Regions from separate parts of the Homo sapiens genome. Here region 2 is linked to region 1. The links are contacts of gene promoters, found by promoter capture Hi-C in blood cells and fetal thymus (Javierre and others, 2016). All regions are on one chromosome and are shown on one strand. Each heading gives the region's core, a stretch centred on a gene start or on the middle of the fragment in contact. The rest is flanking DNA. Distances are from core to core; before and after follow the strand shown. Region 1 holds the start of CD53 (CD53 molecule). Region 2 has its middle 5.6 kb from the start of KCNA3.

What was found. Contacts are between HindIII fragments. The CHiCAGO score rates a contact against its expected background, and 5 or more counts as called.
Region 2: a contact is called between a fragment that was not itself captured here and the fragment with the promoter of CD53 in region 1, in 2 of 17 cell types (total CD8 T cells and activated CD4 T cells). The highest score is 5.4, in total CD8 T cells.

The regions. Positions count from the first base shown.
Region 1 is chr1:110,870,309-110,875,772 of GRCh38, reverse strand. It overlaps CD53 (CD53 molecule), which reads right to left and starts at 2,625. Exons shown (of 8, transcript NM_000560.4): 1 at 2,525-2,625. It also overlaps a transcript of LRIF1 not described here. RefSeq lists enhancers at 1,103-1,152, 2,665-2,774, 3,375-3,424. The HindIII fragment of the contact is 4,495 bases long and covers 1-2,767 here.
Region 2 is chr1:110,666,613-110,672,076 of GRCh38, reverse strand. It overlaps a transcript of KCNA3 not described here. Among named protein-coding and RNA genes, the nearest start is that of KCNA3, 5.6 kb to the left of the region's middle. The HindIII fragment of the contact is 4,893 bases long and covers 1-4,694 here.

The DNA of each region.
Region 1 (5,464 bases), core at 1,376-3,875:
CCCTCCTCTGCCCCAGCAGCCATGCTGGAGTCCTGCTCTGCATAGCTGTCTGTTTTCTCTGGGTTACTTTGCTTCAGTGCCCTGCACCTGCAGTGGCAGATGGGTCCTAGGAGCTTCCTGAGGACAGGTGCCCAGTCTCTAGGGCCCAGGGTGATCTACACACAGTGGATGCTTGCTTGGTACAAGAAGTGCCCTAGGCTGACTAATCTAGGGACGCAGAACAAACCACTATAACTGAATCAATGCAGTACTTCCTGGAACAGAAGCTAAGCTGAAAACAATGGCTGTAACCTCACAAGAAGCTCCACCCTTCCTTCTGCTCTAAGTGAAAATCTAGGTTGAGGAGGCAAAAACCTGCCTCTTCTCCCTCATTTCAAACCCACATCCCATCAATTCTGTCGTGTGAACATGGTGGGCATAGCCCCACCCAGAGCTGGACCTAGGACCTGCCTGGTGAGCGATCTTGCCCTCCACTTTCTGGTGCCAAGTAGGAGAAAGGGCTTTCCACTTCATGTGGCTCTGTAAACATGGTGTGTTACACTGCAGTCTCACTTGCTTTCTCTCATTTCTAACATGCCTGGAGGTACACACTTCTTTGAATTTGAATATACAGCACCCTTGGTCTAGAATGTCTCCATAGCAAACCCATACTTCTGTGAAAGTGAACCCACCAGTCACCTCTCTAGGCAGTTTTTGGCACACTCCTAACTCCTACAGTTTGTGCACGTTCTCCATCTATTATAGAAAAGAGCACATTGCACTGTATTTGTATATTGCTGTGACTGTCATCCATAATAAACTCTACAACTCCTTTCAGATGATAATCTTTTCTGTTATCCTGTATCTCCAGCACCAAGTGCCATATCTGGCCATGGGGTAGGAGTGGGAAAGGAGAACCAGAGTCCGAGGGCCTCTGTGCAGTCAGAGGTCAATCAGAGGGCACAAAAAACCAAGGACCAACAGACTTTGTCCTTTCCAGTTTGTGCCTCTTGTCAGTGAACAAAGGTGAGGTCACTTAGGTGGTGGTAACCATAGCTGTGAAGGCATGAACTTGGAATCATTCCTCATGAATATAAAGGTACCCAATCCTTTCATTTAAAAATTAAGTGTTCTTAACTGGCCCACACAGGAAACATCACAGGAAATAATGTTTCAGTTCAGTCTTTGCTCCCATTCAACCACAATTTCAAAATAGTACAGATTCTCCTCAAGATTGAGAAAGCAAAACCTCTTTGTTTGTCCAGCAGCTGGGAGTTTGCTTTTTCTCAGCTTTCTTCCAAAGCACACGCATAGTATGATATCTCTTATCTCCCATGGGAGTTCCTTAAGAGTAGGACTGTTTGCTAGACAAATATTCTCCTTCTACCTTTTCATCTCCCTCCCCCACAATTCCCAAAGCACAGTGCCTGGCCTCAGGAGGCACCTACCACTTGATTATTAAGTGAATTTATTTAAAAGACTGCTTTTTATTTTTTAATACAAGGCTCAATAAACTCTGAGGTGTTTTGGGAATCCAGAGCCCTCTCCCCGTCCCCACCCCTCTTGGAAATCTAGAGCCCTCTGCCCTGTTCCCAATCCTCATACTTAGATGGGTGGGTGTAATCAAAGAGAACTTTCTCCTTTCTGCTCCAGGGCATAATCAAGTGAAATTCTCACAGGTCTTGGAAGAAGAAAGCTCTTACATAGAGTTTCCGATGGTGGTCACAGAGAGTCAGGACCGAAGCTCTGCTAACACTTTGCTGAGTCCATGCAACCTCAGTCATTAGTTACAGCACATGATTGGAAATTACTGCAGTATCAAGTTTTGGGGATTGCATTTTATACGTGCATTTCATGTGACATTTATCAGTGGTCATGTTTTGTACACCAAGGATAATTTGGGGAAATGCTGAGGATCCCAATGTGCTTCCTGCTCCTTAAAAGCCAACAATCTATGCATCCTTTAGAGATGTCTAGCTTTCACCTTTTAAAATACAGTTACTGAGCACATCCTGGTGTTTTGATTTTTAGCCACCTTTCTATTTAGTGGCTTTGAAGAACCACAGTGGGAGTCACTAAATTTACTTTTGAAATTTTCTCAAATGAAAAAGAACTGTGTCTTCTAGCTGTCTTTCTAAAGACAGCTCTGGCTGTGGGTTCTTTCCTCACTTTAAAATCACAAGACCAATTTTCTGAAGACCAGAGCACATAGGAAATCTCCCCAATGTCATCTCGCATAGAAAGCTCCAGGCATCAGGAATTACTACACAGAGTAATTCAAGCTCTGAAGCAATTAAGGCATGTGAATGCCTCGACTCAGAGATTTAGATAATGGGAACCTGATTAAGTAAAAGTATTTCTGGCCTGATTGCCTTTGGGGATGTTACTAGGATCTTGCTAATCTGTTTTACTTTGTGCACTAAATATTTGTGAAAGAGAAGTTGCCGGAGATTTTATGGTTACTAGAGAGGTATATGGAGACCCCTAAGAATACGCCCTACCCCACATTAGACAGCAAGCCAAGTTAAAACGTCATCAACCTTACCTTTTCCAGGCACCGTTCCTCAGTCCTTTCGGCAGAATTTAGTGATTATCCTTGAGGTGGCCGAGACAAGGCTGGTAACACAGATATCCGGGGCTATTTGTGTAAAAGGAGAAGTGAAGGGTGAAAAAATATGATCATGCTGTGACGACAGGAAGCCCAGATGAGAAGAAGGAGGAAGTGAGGCTGAGTCCGCCCTCTTTAGTCTCAGAGATTTAGTACTTTCCCAGTGGCTTTTTAGAAGCTTCCTCTCACAGCCCACCCTAAACTAGTTTTGTGAAACAAAAGAAAACTTCAAAACCAAGTTGGTTCAGGCACAGATCTGTGAGCAGTGGTGGATTCTAGGGTAATTTGGCAATGATTTTTGCTTAGAAAAGGACAGTGCTTCTCAATCAAGGTGGCATCTCAGAATTAACTGTGTATTTGTTCAAAAAGAAGTATGCCTGGCCCCACCACCAGTTTCCCATTCAGGTAGACAGACTGGAGGGGAACACAGGAACCAATATTTCTAAACATTTTCTAGGCCCGAGACTTTGGAATGTCTTTCTGAAGATTCTCTGCCCCCTCCTCATACTCCCTCTGTCTGGCTTCAGCCAGTCTCTAGACTTGAATTGGACACCATTTGCAGACTTCTCTGTCTCGAGAGCAAGACTGTCTTAAGGTGAGTCCCCAAGGCATAATCCCAGGGGCACTGGTAGAAATGATTTGGTTAGTACAGGAAACACCACATTTGGAGCCAAAGATCTGAGTTTCAGTTCCAGCTTTATCTCTTTTAGCTGTGAGATCTTGAGCAAGTCTCAATCTGTCAGCCTCAGTTTATTAATGGTAACACCTAATAATAATCCTACTGGTTACTGTTACATCCTTATTTATATACAAGAAAACAGGCGCTCAAAGAGGTTAGAAAATTTGCCCAAGCTCATACAACTAAGACATGTCAGAGGTAGGATTAAAATTCAAGGTCACAGAGAAGGCCTTTTGAGAAACACTGTGATCAATATATTTTGAAAAATGTGTTTCTGGTTTCACTATGCTGCATCACTGGAATTTTCTTAGATTGGGTCAAAGGAGTATGTGACAACCCAAATGTATCACTAGCTAACTATGAAACTTGGAAGCAATCACTGGGCCCCAATGTTTTCATCTTATAAATGAACAGATAGATGCACTCTGCGGTGCTGACTTGCGGGCATGCCTCTGGGAAAGCTAGCTGTCTCCCGCTTCCTTCACCCTGAGACATTCAGATCCAGAGTAATCTCCAGCCAGGGCTGTCTTGTGGGGAAAACTGAATTAAATGAAGGTAAAAAGGTCTTTACTGCAGAACTTGTCAGTCCTTAATATTCTCTAAGCAGGGGAAATAATATATAGATTTCTCCAAACTTATCTGAGCATGGAACTGTGTGGTGTGTGTGTGTGTGTGTGTGTGTGTGTGTGTGTAGTTTCTCTTGGGGAACAATTTTTCAGTGTAACTACACTTTAGGGAATGCTATTAAAAAGTCTCTGCACCTCGGCTGGAATCACTGACCCTCACTCAGAGCTGCTGCCATGCTTACAGGTCCCTGAAGTGGTGGGGCTGAGGAGAGGCTTCTGGCTGAACTCATATTTTCCTAATTATCTCACCCATTCTGATGGCTCTAATTACTATCTGTCTGTTCCAAAGATTCACAAATCTATATAGATGCCATGATCTCTCCTTTGAGCTCCACTCTCTCCCAGGCACCTCAAATCCAATATCCAACTTCAGTTTGATTAACTTGGCATCCCCACACTCAAGCCTGCTCCTCCCACCATGTCCACCATCCAGGAAAGGCCTGACTGGCCTTTCAGCCACGTTCATGAGAAACCAGGTGTCCTCTTAAGCTACTCTCTCTCCCACACCACCACCTATTATCAGCCACCAAGTCCTGTCAGTTATGCTTTTGCCTAAATATTTCTCAAACCAGACCACCTCTCTCCAACCCCATAGAAATTACATTAGTCTTTATCTTTTACCTGTGTTACAGGATCCCAGTGTCCTTCAAGACCACCTTGGATGTTTCTTCAGTCTGTCCTCAGGAAGAAGGGAGGAGAGCCTTCTAAAATGCAAATTTAATCACATGACTCCCCAGCTTAAAACTCTCAGCCGGCTATTTCTTCCCCGGCCCCACCCCCAAGATCTCCTCACACTGGGTAACACTGGATATGGAATTCCTTTTAGTTGCTTAAACAAATCAATCTAGTTCTGTCTCACGAGCTCTCTCTAGAATATCCTCTCACCTGTTCACTTAATTCCTTACTCATCCCCCATCATAGCACCAGAAAGCCCTCCAGGCAGGAACAGTTACTCCTGCTCTCTGCTCCCATTGCCCACAGGCATTCCTCCACCCTCTGTCATTCCTTGTTTTTCATTGTTTTCCCCACTAGACTGAAAGCTCTGTAGGTTCTGTGTTACTCTGTGTATGTTGGGTGATCTTGCTCATGACTGTATTTTTAGTGCCTGGTATTGGGTCTGGCACATAAGAGGTGTTCTATAAATATTTGAATAGTTTCAGGTAATGTGAGGCCTGCAAGTTAGGGGAACCAGAAATTTGGGACAGGCAGAGAGAGTAAGGAGAAGAAAGAGATAGGTAGACTGAACATCTGCAGAGAGAGAAGTGATAAATAAGGGGGAATCTTAGGAATATCGGGAAGACTATCTCAAGACAAATTGTTCACAGCAAAATAGGTGACCATTTTAATGCAGAACATTTTTCCTTGAATGTGCCTCTTTCCATCATTTCACTGGGAAGGGTTGTTCCAAGTGCCGGACAACTAGAGGTGGCTGTTTCCTGGGTTTAGGGGTTTGGTAGAGAACAACGTGCCCACTTATACCCATACCTATAAAATTTTATTGAGAATTAATTCTGTTTCTGACCATCAGATATTTAGAATTCATTTGGAGGGACAAGAACAAAAACAAATAGA
Region 2 (5,464 bases), core at 999-3,498, 200 kb after region 1:
TTAAATGATTTCATAAGGAAAACCACTGTTTGAATAAGCCGCACAAAAAATAAAGTTAAGTCTGAGACTCTAAGGAGGTGAAATGAATCCCAAATGCATTTTTTAACTATGAAAATCATTATGTCATTCCATAATGACTGAATCAAGGAGGAAAATATGGTGTTTGGAATGTTAGATATTAACCACAATAAGGCATGATCTGGATTAAATGCCATTTATTAGGCAATAATTTTTAAAGATGCTTCTCTACAGTTTTCTTTCTCCAAGAACTTTCAAGCCAACAAATGAAATTTAAAAGCAAATGTAAAAGTGTTCTGTACATAAGCAAATGAGAGATTCGATCAGTGTGCCTGAAACCTTACTACAAGGGACCTTCAGGCTTTCTCTTTAAAAAAAAAAATACAGATCCCACAACAGCTCTGTCATCATCACAGCACTTGACAAGCTAAATAAACTTCAAATAAATAAAGGATGCACGTTTAAAACTGAGTGAATTGCAGACAATCAATTAAAAGGAGGGACAGGAAGTAACCAGATCTTGGGAGAACACCTGCAAGTTTCAGCCATATGCCAAGGGTTGCCAGAAGACAGACAGAATCAGGTGAGCACTCTGTGATCTACTGGGAGCAGTCCCTTTTGTTATCCAGAGCCAGGGAACTGTCATTCATGTATAGACTGATGGTATTTGCCAAACCAACAGTTTTATCTTAGTTACATGCTTGGTGTCTTTTTAAAAATAATTTACACCTTTCTCATTTGATTTCCATGTTGCTAACTGTCGTTTAGTTTCCATTGTTTATTACAAAAGGATGAAAAAACAGTCATTGCTCTTCAGAATAACCTTCACTCAAGCCAAACTGAAAATTATTCCGTTCCTTTTACTAACCCACTTGGCCTCCAAGCAACCTGTTTCCCTTTAAAAAGGATAAATGGCAGAATCTACTGCTGTTAGATTATTGGTCCAATTTTAATTTACATAATTATTTAATAGTATGCAGTGGTACAGTTCTTTGAAACAAAAAAGGGTTAAAAATAAGAGTAACATTTTATTTAAACATAATCATTCTGTTTCATATACATTATATAAATTATACATTATCTACAGTTGTTTTTTGGTTTTAATAGCATATAACTATTCTATCCTTCCAGAGTAAATGAGAGTAACCCTATTTTTAAAGCCCATGAAGTATTTTCAGTTAGGAGTACATTTATAATGCATGCATTGAAGAGAGAGGAAAATAGTGATTGAGACTATAAGAGAGAGCTGAGGAAGGAAAAGACCAAACAAATAGAGGCAAGAAATCTAAATATACCTGGTCATAGATTTGTTGTTTGTTTTTTATCATATATTTGTTTTTATCTATGTATATCTAAGTAGGACTTCATTATCTAGTTTTCTTTGCTTTTTGTTTGAGTTAACCTTTGACATTGATCTACCTCTTGACCAAACGTTTGGTACCCTTAATGACCAGAAATTATTTTTATGACACATTTTGATAATATGTTAGATACATTGTAACAATTACATTAAAATAATTTTTGTATCTGTTCTTAACATAGAGATGGAGGAAGTGCAATGACAATTTTATTCACATTTATTCAGGAGATGTAGAAACCTTGATTAGTTCTATAAGTAAATTATGGTTGTGCCATAATTCTTATGGTTATTAAATGGCAGTAATTTAAAGGGGGCCTTTGTTCTTTAATCCAGAGAAATATCCTGGCTTTTGACTCATAACTTTGAGGTAATATGATTGCTTGTAGTCACCACATTGTAAGTTCCCTAAAGGATATAAGCTCTGTGTCTTGAAGGTTTTAGGTACTAGTGCCTAGCACAGAATGTGGCACCTTTTATATTTGTTGAGTGAATGGCTGTTATCTTACATAAATGTTATTTCCAGGCTTTTAATAAAGTGGTTAAAAGCATAAGCTCTGCAGTCATATTTCCAGGATTTGAGTCCTGACTCTGGTATATGATCTTGAACAAATTACTTAACCTCTCTGTGCCTCAGTTTCTTTGTTTGTAAAATGAGGGTGATAAACAGTACCTCACAGGTTTATTGTGAATAGTAAATGTTAATACAGGTAGAACACTTAGAAAAAATAATTCCATGACACGGCATCAGAGATTTTGCTAAGAGATTATATTGTGATCATCACTCACAAGCACTGTATAATTAATACAATGTTTTGTGAATATGAAATACACAAGTAATCAGTGTCTTCCTATTTCCTTTCTATTATAAGAATAATAATTACCATTTATTAAGAGTCAACCATGTCCTGGACACTTGTCAACTCCGCAAGGTAAGTGCTATTAACCTCATTTTAGGAGGGCATAAAATAGATGCTTAAAGTTAAGTGATTTCCCTAAGACTTCACAGCTAGCAGGAGACTCAGTTATGATTTAAAGCCAGGTTATTCTGGCTCTGAAACCCATGCTACTTTTATTAGGTGACTTGAAAGACAAATCTCTTATGCTTTTAGACTTGGCTTCAGCCTATGTCACTAATTAATGAGTTCATGTAGATAACATATCTCCAGAAACCTATTTCATTTCAGTATACTGAAAATTAACCTGCTTAAAATAAGCAGGTATTTTAACCAAATATAAGCATCAAATATAAGTTATTTAAATAAGATGAAGAGATTGACTTTTCTAATAACAAAAGATTATTTTCTTATAGTTGGTTTATCTAGATTTAATCTTAGAAAGTATAACCAGTCATAGTAGTGTTTAGTGATAACTGCTATGACAATGGATATTTTTCAGTTTCAAGATTTTTCTGTTTTCATGTGTTTTAATCAACAATAGATGATAGCATTATGCAAATTAGTTTTCTATCTCCTTATGCTTTGCTTCATTTACTGAAGAACCATACCAGAAAGTCATGTAAATATTTTGACTCTCCCTTATTAAGAGGGAAGAAATTATTCAGAACAGAAGTATTAAAAGCAGAATGAGATTGCCAGTTCACTGAAACTTGTGACATTATTGCCTTACCTAACCACTCCATGGATCTTTAAGGGCATCTGTGCTCTAAAGAAATTAAAATAAAATTTTTCCTACATAATAGCTGCAGACCCTTCTCTCAGTTCTTAAATCATTTATGAAATGAAAATGGATAATGATTTGGGCTTAGAGCAAAATTCTAATGAGCCTACGTTTGCACATGCCAGCTGGCTTTGCCAAACTACAACCTTCACTGTTGAGCTCAGTTGCACGTCTTATGTGTTGAAGAAATATACGGATGTCTGTGTATAGCAAGAGATTCATGTGAGGAGGTGTGACTGGATCAGTGCACACCCATCAACACCCTGGGGAAAAATGTATATGCCTTACAGCTGATGAATCCAGATAGAAACATGGAAGTTAACATTGTTATTGTTTTATTTCTTTTATGATGTTTTAAAATGACATGATACACCAACTGTGGTGACATAACCACAGACACCTACGCATAGGAGGAAGCATTATGTCAGTTATTTCTAAACTTTGAAATAAAATTTCAGTATTGAAATTTAAATGCACAGTATGAAGACATTTAAAGTTATGGTTTGTTGGCATAAAACTTGTTATTTACCTTTTTGGCGTATAATATACTCAAGTATTTGTTTTGCTATAGTATATAAAGACAATGTATATAATATATACTAGTAGTCTGTTCCTTTGAGTACCATAACTATAACTTATTGACTTCTATACATTTAAAATTTCAACATTTTCTACAGCAGTTCCAAGTCCTTCCCACCTCTCAGCTGTGAATAGAAGTGATAACCCTTCCCACTAAGAAATGCAAAGAAGCACACGTGCCCCATAATCTGAAGACTTATGGAAACACTGTGAGATAGAGGTGAGGAGCATAAGAATGTGGAAGAGGATATTTAGGGCTGCATTTTTACAGTGGGAGCTTTTTCTTTGTGTTTTGTTTTAGGCCTTTTAAACTAAGGAGGATACAATTATTGGTTTTTGTACTATTCCGTATGGGTTTGGGGGCAATTCTATATATATTAATGAAATCACTTGTTTTTATATACCTTTAGGAAGTGGTTGATAACCTTTGAGAGAAAGTACATCAAAGGAGGCAGGAAAAAGGGAGTAGAAGCCAATCAGAGCCCAGACCTTACTATTGTGACTCAGCTCTTAGCTTTCTGCCAGAAAATGGCCATTGCTATATAGCATATGATAATAGTATTCTTTATGTACTCATATTCAGTTTGCAAGTATAATTTAAATGATTCAGACTGGTTAGAAAACTTTCAGATGTTTGTCTTGATTTTTAATGATGTCGTGAGCTAATTTTCAAAATTGTGAAGAAAATACATTTTAAAAAGAAACGTTTTCATGATTTTACTGGGTTCTTTTGTACCAGATGTGTGTTTTCTTCTGTTTTAAAATTTGCACCATTAGCCATCAAATGCATATTAAGAAGAGATCTGGGAAAGAGCCTCCATCATTTTCTTGGGATCCATGTTGTTATTGTTGTAACCTAAATAGAGTGAAATAGGAACTCTGCCCTGTAAAGTAAAGCCTGGAATTCTGGTTGCTAGCAATATAACACTTAAATGGAGAAAAAAATGATATTTCATCCTATCTAAAGAATGTTATGAATAAATTTGTTCATGCAAGACTCTGACTTTGCAGATACAGGGGTCATACCTTCCAGTATGGTGATAGTGATTGGGGAGAAGCTTTTTCTCTTACAGTGAGCTTCCAACCTCACACCCACTCCTAATATCATAGCACAAAGGCTCTTGGGAATCTCTATGGAGGCCCCTACCCACTTTTTAGAATGAAAGTTAGCATCATGCCTACATGTTTTATATCAGACAGCACTGTTATTTCATTTGTCTTCCATTACATTTATTTTAAACTTCTGTTCATTATAGAAGTCCCTCTGAATCCTAAGGTTCTTATTTTTATACATTTAAACATGTTCTTTACATTAAAACATAATTAATTTGGAAGAGAAGCAGTGGGGACAATTTATTACACACACACACACACCCCTCACCTGTTCATAGATTACTTCCTATCCTGCAGTACATTTACTTTCTGTCTATATTTCTAAATGGTGTCATTTTTTTCTGAAAATTAGTGAATTTCCAAAATATTGGTTTTCATTCTGTATGTGCAGCATAAATATTTACAAATCATTTTTCTTTTTTTCCAGCCTTACTTAAAATGCAGGTTTATTGCCTAGTGTTCTCAATGTATTTATTAATGAAATAACATTCACTGAAATAGTAAATATACTCAACCTATCACCAAATTTTGTCATTTAGCCTCCCAAATATCTCTAAAAACAGCCCACTTTACTGTGGCACTGCCAGGACCACTGTAATCCACACTGTCATCTCTATCCTACATTAAGTGTGAAGGTCTCTTAATGGCATCCTCACATTTCTTGTGGCCAGTCTGACCCTTTCTCTTCCTGGTAGCCAGAATGATCTTTTTGAGACC